2 separate regions of the Homo sapiens genome follow, and region 2 is linked to region 1. The links are contacts of gene promoters, found by promoter capture Hi-C in human tissues and cell types (Jung and others, 2019). All regions are on one chromosome and are shown on one strand. The core of a region is centred on a gene start or on the middle of the fragment in contact, and the rest is flanking DNA. Distances in the headings are between cores, read along the strand shown.

Region 1 (5,570 bases), core at 1,255-3,754:
GTGACCCTGAACCACAGCTGAGTGAGGCGCATTCCCGGGTGAGAATGTCACGGGAGTTCTTACTCACCAAGCCTCTGCCTTACCTTTGTGTTTTTCTGTTTGAGACCTCAGAAGCTCTGCACATTTTGTTTCTTCCTCCTGTATTTCCAGATGAAATCGGCATTCTGGGTGAATGCTGTTCACCTGTTCACGGTTAAAAGAAATATTAATAACTAAAAATTCCACAAGAAGAAGAAAAGCAAGCAAAAATTCTACAAAAACAACCCCAAACCTCACAGCTTTAAACTGCTTCCAAACCAAAATGCATTTAAAACCAATCACCTTGATTTTTCTGGCATTTTTTAAAAACTTCACTATTTACTTTGTAAAGGTATTATAAAACAAACACAAAATCTAATAGAATTTTTTTTCTGAGCAGGAAAATGAACTTACTAACAGAATACATCGGTACTAATTTGGAGGCAACAGAGCTCTTTACTCCATTCATCTCTCCATACCCGGCTCCTCCGTTTCACACCCTTTGGTTTGGTTTAAGCGGATGCCTGTGGACTGTGCCGCTTCCTCCGAGGACGGCCTCCACCCGGGAAAGAGCCGTGATAGAAGGGCTTTATTTTTAAAGGTGTTGGTACATGTTCAAAGCTTAACCCTCTAACTACAGATAAAACTGCAATCGTTTTGACTAGAATTTGGGGTGGAAGAGATATTCAAAGAAATCAGCAAGATGAGGAGGGAGGCAGAGGTGGGGGAATCACACCATTGTGGCCCCACAGAGAAGAGGGGGCGATTTCCAGTCAGGATCCATCAGGGGAGCGAAAGGTGCCACAAAGATAGTAATTAACAGTCTACTAATGTGAGAAGAAGGCAGAACTACACAATGCTTCCTCTCAGAAGGCACCGTTTCTACCTTGTTCTTCACGCCCTCCGCGAAGTCAGCACAGGCCTGCCAAGCGGCCCTTGGGGGCTTAAGGAGGGCTCCCCCCACCCATCCTTTTGGTCTTGATCTTCCCCCTCCCCCACCACCGACCAAAATTCTACTTGTACTAAAGTAGTAACTAAAGAGAATCATACTGTTGGGCGTACTATGGCCATCTATGTTTAGTTATCTTACTATTGAAATGGTCAATGAGAGTTCCAACCAGGAACACAATATCCTAACAGAATTAAGGGGAAAACAATGCTGGAACTTCTGCCACCTTCAGCCCCATTTAAAAGAGCCCCGAGCTTGCTTCTTGCTCGTGACTGAACCAGCACCAGGCACTGACTTTGGGCTCCAAGTCCTCTGTTTTCATGCAGGACAAGTAAGTGGCTTAAATTTCAGAATTAAGGAAATTATATTGATGTAAAAAGAAAAACTTTGTTAAAGTGTAAAAGACATTAATAATACCTGACGTTCCTGGAATATGCACAGCAATGACTTCTTTTAGGACATTTTAGCAATGAAAGCAGCATTAACCGTGATAAAACCCGTTACTTTCCAAGGACCCGCTCCGCAAAGCGCCCACCCTCGAGGGAGGAAAGCCGAGCTGCGCCTCCGCGCAAGGCCAGGGAGTGTGGCTCGAGCCCCGCTGCAGACCGGGCGTCGCCGGTTAATCAATGACACTGTCGGGTCAGCAGCGCAGCCTCCCAGCTGCGGAGGGGCCGCGGATCGATCCAGACCTGCCTCGGCTGCGACGCGCACGAAAACCGCGCGCACCGCAAACCCGCTTCAGTCTCCAAGAGGAAAGCAAGAAACAAGGCTCGGGTTTTTTTCTTTCTTTTTTCTTTCCTTTTTTTTTAAGGTTCACAGAGGGAATAATTCAGAACTCCATGTGCGAAGGCACTTAATCAACAAACTTATGAGCAGTTAGTTCCTCCAGTGCCCTTGGGAAAAAGCAACTATTTCCAAAAGGAAACTTTATTTAACCGACGCCACGTCCCCCCGACACTAAAACTAACCAGTAAGTACAGGGAGGGACCGAGAGGCATCTGCGGCCAACGCCAACCCCGATCTCCCCGTGAAACGCGCAGCCCGCGCAGGCGCCCGCAGCTCCCAGCTCCCGGGACGGCCCCGAACGAGCTCATCGTTGACGCGTCCAGGAAGAAACGATCCCGTTTCCAGCAAACCCCGGACGGTGGGGCGCGGGGAAGGGCGCAGGCAGCCTCCCAACCCGAGTCCCGCAACCCGGCGGGACCGGAGCTCAGCGCTTCACGCTCTCCGGGAGGAAGCTCCGGACCCCGGGCGACCCCGCTCCCTCTCCCGGACCCCGCCCGCGCTCCAGCACCCGGGAGGAAGGCGAAGACCGGCGGGAGGAGCGCTCTTCTCGGAAGGGGAGAACCGGGTCCGAGGCGCCGTGGGGCGGGGGTCGCGGGCGCACTCACGGGGGCGAGCAGCCAGCAGGTCAGCAGCGCGGGAGGCAGCAGCGTCCGCATCCCGAGCTCAGCGTGCCGGGGGCCGCCCAGCGCCCGCCGCCTCCGTCCTAGGTCCCCGCGGTTCCGCCGCCTCCAGCATGGGCCGGGAGCGAGTGCGCGGAGACCTCGGGCCCCGCAGCTGTAGCCGAGCGCCCGAGCGCGGGGGCCGCCCCCTCCGTCCCGGCAGCTGGAGCGCGCTCAATGCACGCCCGTCCCCCACGCGCCCCGCCGCTCCGCCCCCCGCCCCTGTCCCCGCCCCGCGCTGCCCCAATCCTCGTCTCCCTCCTCCCCCGAGAACCCCCGCTCCGCGCCCCTCCTCACCGCCCCCCACTTCCCCTTCCGCTGCGCCCCGCGCCCTCTCCTCGCCCCTGGGCTCTCTGTCCCCGCCGCGCGCGCTCCCTCTGGTCTCCTCGACCCCCCCAGCCTCTCTCTCCGTTCTCCTCCCCTCTTCCCTGGCCCACGCCCCCCTCCCGGCCGCGCCTCCCCGATCTGTGGGCGGAGGGGCTGGGAAGCGGGGTGCTCAGTGCGCGCCCGGCTCCGAGTAGAGAGAACTGGGGGAGAGCGGCCGGCGCGGGGCCGGGAGAGGAGGACCGGGCCAGGTGTGCGCTCGGAAGGGGCGGATGCCTTTGCGGCCGCCTGTACCTGCCTTTCTAAACAACTGCGGAAGCCCAAGAAAGCGGCCAGAGACCCGTCCGGGGTGGGCGCGCCGTCTTTGTAGCCAGTGGGGCTAGGTTGGGGCATCTGAAAATGGAGAAAATCAGAGTGCTTTTTGGTGGGGATCCCCGCAGCCTCAAAGAGGACATCAGGTCGAACAGAAAGCTGGAGAAAAACGCAGACGGGGGTATAGGTGGGTCCCAGCCTCAGCTGGGTGGCGGGTTTTGTGTCCTGCGTTTGCAAAACGGGGGTCATTCTCTCCCCGCAAACGCGGCGGCGGGTGGGGAACGCTGGGCGGGGACTCACGCGGTGCCACTGGGGCCGCCCCGCCGCGCCCCACGCGGGACTGCGCGGCCTCCCAAGGCGCCCGCGTGACCAACCCAGGAGAGCTCGGCGTTCCCCAGCAAGTGGAAAGCACTGGAATGAGAGATACAAGTTAAGTTCGTGTTGTTTTAATTTTTTATTTGGAAATAATTTCAAACTTACACAAAAATTAGAAGAATAAGAATATTACAAATAACTCCTTTTTATCCTTTTTGTGGATTCGGTCATTAACATTTACCTCATTGGGCTTATCATTTGCTTCTCTCTGATCCCCCACCCCCCGTATTCACAGATATCGATTTTTCTATCATCTGATGTTTATCATCCACATTATCTATCATCTACCTATCCATCATCTACGTATCATCTATCGATCTGTCATGTACCTATCATCTATCATCTTCCTATCGATCATCTATCTGTAATCTGTCATCTATTATCTGTCATCTATCATCTACCTGTCCATCATCTACCTTTCATCTATCCATCTGTCAGGTATCTATCATCATGCGCCTATCATCTATCATCCACCTTTCCTCTATCACCTACCTGTCATCTATTATCTATGATCTATCCATCTATTATGTACCTATCATCTATCATTTGCCTATCTTTCATCTGTAATTTACCTATCTATAACCTGTCATCTACCTATTTATCATCTATCATCTGCTGTCATTTATGATCTATCCATCTATCATGTACCTATCATCTCTGTATCATGTATCAATCAGCTATCATCTACCTATCATCTCTCTGCGATCTATTACCTATCTATTACCTACCATCTACCTATTTATCATCTATCATCTACCTCTCTGTCATTTATCTATGATCTGTCATGTACCTATCATCTATTATCTTCCTATCGATCGTCTATCTGTAATCTATCATCTATTATCTGTCATCTATCATCTGCCTATCCATCATCTGTGATCCGGCATATCTGTGATCTACCTGGCTGTCATCTATCAATCACCTATCATCTGCCTATCTGTCATCTGGCTGGCATCTATCAATCACCTATCATCTGCCTATCTGTCATCTGCCTGTCATCTATCAATCTATCATCTGCCTATCTGTCATCTGCCTGTCATCTATCAGTCTATCATCTGCCTATCTGTCATCTGCCTGTCATCTATCATCTGCCTATTTATCATCTATCTGTGATCTATCATATCTGTGATCTGCCTGTCATCTATCAGTCATCTATCATCTGCCTATTTGTCATCTATCTGTGATCTATCATATCTGTGATCTGCCTGTCATCTATCAGTCATCTATCATCTGCCTATCTGTCATCTGCCTGTCATCTATCATCTGCCTATTTGTCATCTATCTGTGATCTATCATATCTGTGATCTGCCTGTCATCTATCAGTCATCTATCATCTGCCTATCTGTCATCTGCCTGTCATCTATCATCTGCCTATTTGTCATCTATCTGTGATCTATCATATCTGTGATCTGCCTGTCATCCATCATCTGCCTGTCATCTATCGATCATCTATCATCTGCCTATCTGTCATCTGCCTGTCATCTATCCTCTACCTGTTATCTATCTGGCTTCATCCATGTGTATCTAGTGGGAGACGAGGAGAGGGAGACCTGGGCCTTAGGCGGGCTGCTTGGCTTGTGAAGAAAGCTCGTGGCGCTGGGTGCCTTCGACAAACGCATCTTTTTCTCCCGGTTCCACCTGGGTGAGCGATGAACTTTGAGCTCTATGCATTTGTAGGAATGACAGCACCTGCCCTTCCACCGCAGAGGGGCTCTGTAATAATCAAGGTGATTAATGCACACGTCAATACCTTGTTGAGGGCCTGCATTTTAGAAGTGACTGTCCAGGGTGCAGTGAGGGGTTGCATGATGGGTGAGTCTTCCCCTGCAGCAGTGCGTCCCGATGGACGGGGTAGACCAGGAGAAATGGCTGTGGTCGTAGCTAGATGGCACACTTCTCTGAAGGTCCAGTGTGTGTGTAATCACGGGCTTTGCTGAACACCCCAAACCCTGCGGTTACCTGATGCTCTTAGAAAAATGACCAAAGTTCTCAATATGCCTTTGTAAACAAAAGATAAAATTCTAAGCCCCCCAACCAACTTAATGGACTCCCCTCTTGGCCAAAGGGATCCCAAAGAAACCTGAAAAACGAGTTCAGGCCATGACAGGGAGAGGGGGTTGGGCAGGCCTCACTACACCCTCCTTTCC
Region 2 (5,570 bases), core at 2,265-4,764, 460 kb before region 1:
ACACACTTTTTTGTCCAAAAGGGTATCTGGATGTTGAGTTGGGATTGTGGATTACATAGCCCTATCTTCATAACATAAATACTATGTATTCACCAGAGTTACCCATAATCAAAGAAAATATCTTCAAATTCTCAAAAATAATGTAACTAAAAGAGGTGACTTGAAGTCCCTGAACGGCACTATCCAATAGAAACTGAATGCAAGCCACAGATGCAATTTTAAATTTTCTAGTGGCTGCATTAAAAACAGACAAAAGAAACAGGTAAAATTACTTCAATATTACACAGTCATCCCTTGGTATCCATGGGGGATCAGTTCTAGGACCTCCCTCAGAGACCAGAATCTGCGGATGCTCAAATTCCTCATATAAAGTGGAGTAGTATCTGCATATAACCTATGCACTCCTGCACACTTTAAATCATCTCTAGATTACTTATAATACTTAATACAGTGTCAATGTTATGGAAATAGTTGTGACACTATATGTGTAGGGACTGATGACAAGGAAAAAAAAGTCTGTACATGTTAAGTACAATGCATTTTTTTCCCAAATATTTTCGATCCTTGGTTGATTGAATCCATGGATGCGAAACCCACAAAGGGCCAACTACCACATTTCGCCTAATACATCCAAACCACTAACATTTCAACATTCACTCAACATTTTTAAAAAGTACTGAGATATTTTATATTCTCATTTCCATATGAAGTCTTTGAAATCTGGTATGTTTCTTACACTTACAACACATCTTGATTCAGACTGGCCACGTTCCAAATGCCCAGTGAGCACATGGCTGGAAAGATCAGGGTCAGAGCTCCCTCCCAGCTGAAAGAGCACAGTCCTACCTCCCACAAACCACACATCTTAGCAAGTGACTGGATTGCCCATCAAATAGATTTTCATTATTTGGCTTTATTTTGACAGAGTGCATAAACATGGATCTTAAATAACCCTTCTTTGACTACTTATTTAGTAACTAAAATATAATAAAAATAAGTGTTAACATTTAAAAAAATGAAAATACCTCCAGTATTTTCCCTGAAGCCTTTTTCCAAGCTCTGAAATAAATTTCTGCAATGTATACCATCAAAGACCTATATAAAAAGATCAAAATAGTTTTAATGCAAATTTTAAGAATTATTCTTTCAACATGTATCATTTCAGCTACTCTCCAACCATAGTGAAGAAGAAACTCAGTTTAAACTAGTGCTTTGCAAATCATCTATAGAAATAGGTTATCTACCTGTAGCAAAAAGTAGAAAACGGAGAAGGTTTTGGGAAAGGAAACTGAAGTGACGAACTATTTCATCCTTCTCAGTCAAGGCTTACCCAAAACTTTACTATTTTCTGTGAAACTATGAGTGCATAAGTCCAGAACAAAATTCTAAAGTCAAAAATATTTAAATATAAATAAATTGTCGACTTGGAGTCACGTTGGACTTTTCACGCTACCAATTCCTGAGGTACAAGAAGCCCTAAAATACCAGTATCAACTTAAGAATCATAAGCTTAGAAATCTATTAGTTCAACTCAAATATTCTGAAGATGAGGAAATATGAAAAAGCAATCTAGTATACAACAGGAGCTTTGCAATCAGAGATCCAGAATCAGATCCCAACTTGGTACTTATACAGTTGCCTGACACTGGGAAATTTAGAAAGCAAAGCCTATCTCAAAAGAGAGTTGTGAGGATTAAATTTTAAAATGGAGACTAAGTACTCAGTGCTGGAGCAAATGAAGTACTCTGCCTTGTGCCTGGCAAACGACAAGCACACACTTGACATCTCCATCACGCAGGGAGTGGCAGAGTCATGACTGCAACGTTCCCTGCTGCTCCTGCAGATTCCACAGGCTCTTCCGAGAAGCCACCCTGGCCAGGCCACGTTCAACCAAAAAGCACACATTGCATTCAAAGTACCATGGACATGGCTTTATTACGAGCGAGGCTAAGGTTCAACTGGAAACTATTTTAACTATTTAAAGAACTACCACAAATTAAAACCTTAATTTCAGTGGTCAATACTGGAAAAGAATGATTTCCTATAAAAGGAAAAAGCTACCCAGTGATCCAATGGTACATAATAAATAACGTATTTCTAAAGCTTCTAATCCATTACTATAACTTAAGAAGTCAGACCAAATGGAATCTTTCAAAACCAGATTAAGACAGCACAAAATCTTCAGTACTTTTAACACTTACTTTTGTAATCCCTGTAACTGGTTTTTAATGGTCCCGTGGATCATTTTGATGAAGTTGATATTCCAGTTGAAGAGACAACTAAGAAATCTTCTTCCCTAGAAATAAAAAAGGATAGAATGTTTACATTGCAACCAAATAAAAAGTGCCAAATAACAAACAATTATTTGAACGTCTAGTAAGCTAAACATTGCTATTGCTAAAAACGAGGCACATGTAATTATCACTGAGAGCACATGCACGAGTTGAGCTGTCTGCGGGGCCTGCACAGCCAGGAGCCACACAAGCCACCTCCCCCAGGGCCGAGCAGCCGCTACACTGAGCGCCTCTGTCCTCAAGGGCCACAGGTGCAGAGATGGAGACCACAGACAGTAACCATGGGTCCATAAACATCTCATTCTGGCTCTGTCATGGATGGTTCCATAGTCTCAAATGAAAGAAAGCTTTAAATCTAGCATAGGTGGGTGGGAATGGAGTTGAATATCCCAGTTCATTTCACCTTCTCATTTATAGATGAGAAAACTGAGGACTCATATAGTTAAAAGGCTAAGTGTTTGTCAAGCTAGAATTTCCAAATACACAGTCTTCAAGTCATAAATACATCATGTGATGATAATTTATATGCATGCTACTAGATTATGTATCTGAACCTAAGAAGAATGAATACAATCTTCATACTCTATAGAGTGCATAAGATGCATCTATCTAGAACTCTCTCAGTGAATAGCACCTTCATCTCTTACCAGCACACCACTGCACAGAACTGGAATCCTACAGAAATGCAATACATTTTGATTCAAATGCAGGGTAACCATGCTCACAACAGGCAAGTTAAAAAAAAAAACAGTAATATTCACTGGAAGTAATCTGTTAGTACAGTACAAGATGTTTATGGTTTACCCAGAATGACTGGAAACTGACCTGACCAAATTAATGATTGATTAGGAAACTACATTTAGATATCTTAAATTCAAAGGAGACATCAATTTTTTAAAAAGGGTAGAGGTTATAACACATACATACATTTATGTCTGTTATATATCTGCACACATATATAAGTTAACAAGTACGATTCATCAACTCCTTATGTATAAGTCAACATAAAATAGTTTATTGTTTGAATCCATCATTAATTTCTTCACTCTCCCATTTCAGAACAATCCTGGAGACATGTGTGGGGCACAGGCTGTGTCCAACATCTTTGTAATAACGATGGTGCTGACACAGCAAGGATGGCAAAGGGCAGCCCTCCCCAGGGGTTCTTATCCACCAGCGCCTGGGCTGCGGTTTGATACATATTACCTCATCTGTTCCTAACAACAATCCTGTGAAACAGTAACTGTTGCTCCTATTTTACAGAACAAAACTCTGAGGCTGAAAGGCCTGACCAAGGGCACCACCTATAAAGTGAACAAAGACCCTGGGAGCCAAAGGTCTCAGTCCTAATCACATGGCCCTTTGTCTAGCAGACTGCAGATGGCTCGCCGGGGTCCAGTTCTGTCTCTGCCGCTGAGCAGCTGTGACACCTGGAGGAAACTTATTCTGTACCTCAGAGCTGGTCCTCCTCTTCCTCTGAAGCCCTTCTCCACCTCCTTCAGGGAGGAGGGATGACTTCCTCCTTCTGCCTCAGAGATGTGCCTGCTGAGCCATGAGCATCCAAATGCAAAAGCTTGTTCTAGTCTCCCCTGGCACTGCCTGAGCATGTAGTCGACGCTCAGTAAACAACTGCAGAAGGCCCCTAACACAGAAGAACTATGCGAGCCTCTCTGTAATTCTCAATTCTTTAGTAGTCATGTTAACAAAAGTAAAGAAGATTAATTTTAATAATATATTTTATGTAAAGCAATATTTAATATAACAGACAATAAAAATATTGTCTATTATATTAAGTATAGAACAAAAATTATTAATGAGCTATTTTATGTTCATTTCTTTCCCACTAAATCTTCAAATCCATGTGTATTTTATACTTATGGCTAATCTCAGTTCAGTTGGGTCCCATTTCAGGTGCTCAGTAGCCTCATATGGGAGTTGACCCCAGGACGGGCAGTGCAGCAACAGGCCAGAAGCCTCTCTGGATTTACAGGATGGGTAGAAAAAAGAAAGGGAGGATATTATGGGATGACAGTTTTGAGTACATGGCAATTAAAATGGAATTAGGGCAGAAGGCCAGATCTCATTCATAGAGAAGTGCTTTCTCAACCTTATTTTTAATCATTCTTAATTTAAAATGTAATTACGGTTCCCCTAGGTAACACACAGCCACCTGTTACCATCCAATTTAATGATGAAATAAGCAAGGACTTGTAAAATGTCTTCTCTAGTACTGCCATGCAGTAAAAATCATGTGCAGTAAATAGCTCCTGGTAGCTAAGCAACACCGAGCATGGTGCAGACAGGAACCATGTGAACACAGGAGAAACATCTATTAAGAAGCAGCTCACAAACAGATCAAAAAACAAATACCTATTTACCTCTTCTTTCTTGATATAATTAATATTTATGAAGCACTCAAGTAACATATCTTTAATTTCTCCACTTTCCTCCAAATCATAATCAAAGCAATATAAAGCTTGATGGATACGCCAAAGCCGACATACGTCTGCACCCTAGGAATGACACAAAAAATGTGATACCTTTTTCAATGAACAGTAAAGTCATATTTCAAATCAAGTATATTTTATATCATAAATAATGGTAATTCTAGTTGATTCATCAAAGATTAAAAAATAACGACAAATAAAAACAGATTTTAAAATTTGCAAATGCCCCCTATAGCTCTACAGAACATTTTTTTAAAACATAAGGAAAATAATTAAAAATCCAGCAAGTTTAAGAACTTCCTCGATGATGAAGATTTTATACATCTGAACTGTCTAGTGCAGTAGACATTAGCCACATTTCACTGTAGAGCTACTAAAATGTGACTAATGCAACTGAGGAACTGAATTTTTCATTATTTTTAACTTTAAATTTAAACAGCTTTCTGTGGCAAGTGGCTACTACGTTGAATAGCGCAGGTTTAGAATGTTAGGAAGACGTTTAAAAATAAAGTCCTAGCTAGGTGGTGCACTCCTGAAGTCTCAGCTACTTGAGAGGCTGAGGCAGGAGGATTGCTCGAGCCCAGGAGTTTGAGGCTGCAGTGAGCTATGATCATGCCACTGCACTCCATCTGGGCAATAGAGAGAGACCCTGTCTTTAAAAAAATAAAAAGTGAGCATACTGTCTTAGTCTCCAGACTCCTCCTTAGTAACATGACAAAGGCTGTCTTTCCTGTGTCTTCCTTGGCAGGCAGGCCTTTCTCCCACCAGGTAACACACAAATCCTGAATAGAACTCTGTAGTTTTCGTTCAGACTCAGGTAATGCATATA

What was found. Contacts are between HindIII fragments. The study calls those that stand out against the background at their distance.
Region 2: a contact is called between a fragment that was not itself captured here and the fragment with the promoter of VIPR2 in region 1, in 1 of the 25 tissues and cell types used here (lymphoblastoid cells).

The regions. Positions count from the first base shown.
Region 1 is chr7:159,142,363-159,147,932 of GRCh38, forward strand. VIPR2 (vasoactive intestinal peptide receptor 2) reads right to left here and starts at 2,505. Exons shown (of 13, transcript NM_003382.5): 1 at 2,359-2,505; 2 at 84-183. The coding sequence starts at 2,409. RefSeq lists an enhancer at 4,303-5,502. The HindIII fragment of the contact is 14,641 bases long and covers 1-5,570 here.
Region 2 is chr7:158,685,147-158,690,716 of GRCh38, forward strand. NCAPG2 (non-SMC condensin II complex subunit G2) reads right to left here. Exons shown (of 28, transcript NM_017760.7): 5 at 5,422-5,570; 6 at 4,673-4,807; 7 at 2,202-2,296; 8 at 1,026-1,095. Among named protein-coding and RNA genes, the nearest start is that of NCAPG2, 17 kb to the right of the region's middle. The HindIII fragment of the contact is 3,416 bases long and covers 1,807-5,222 here.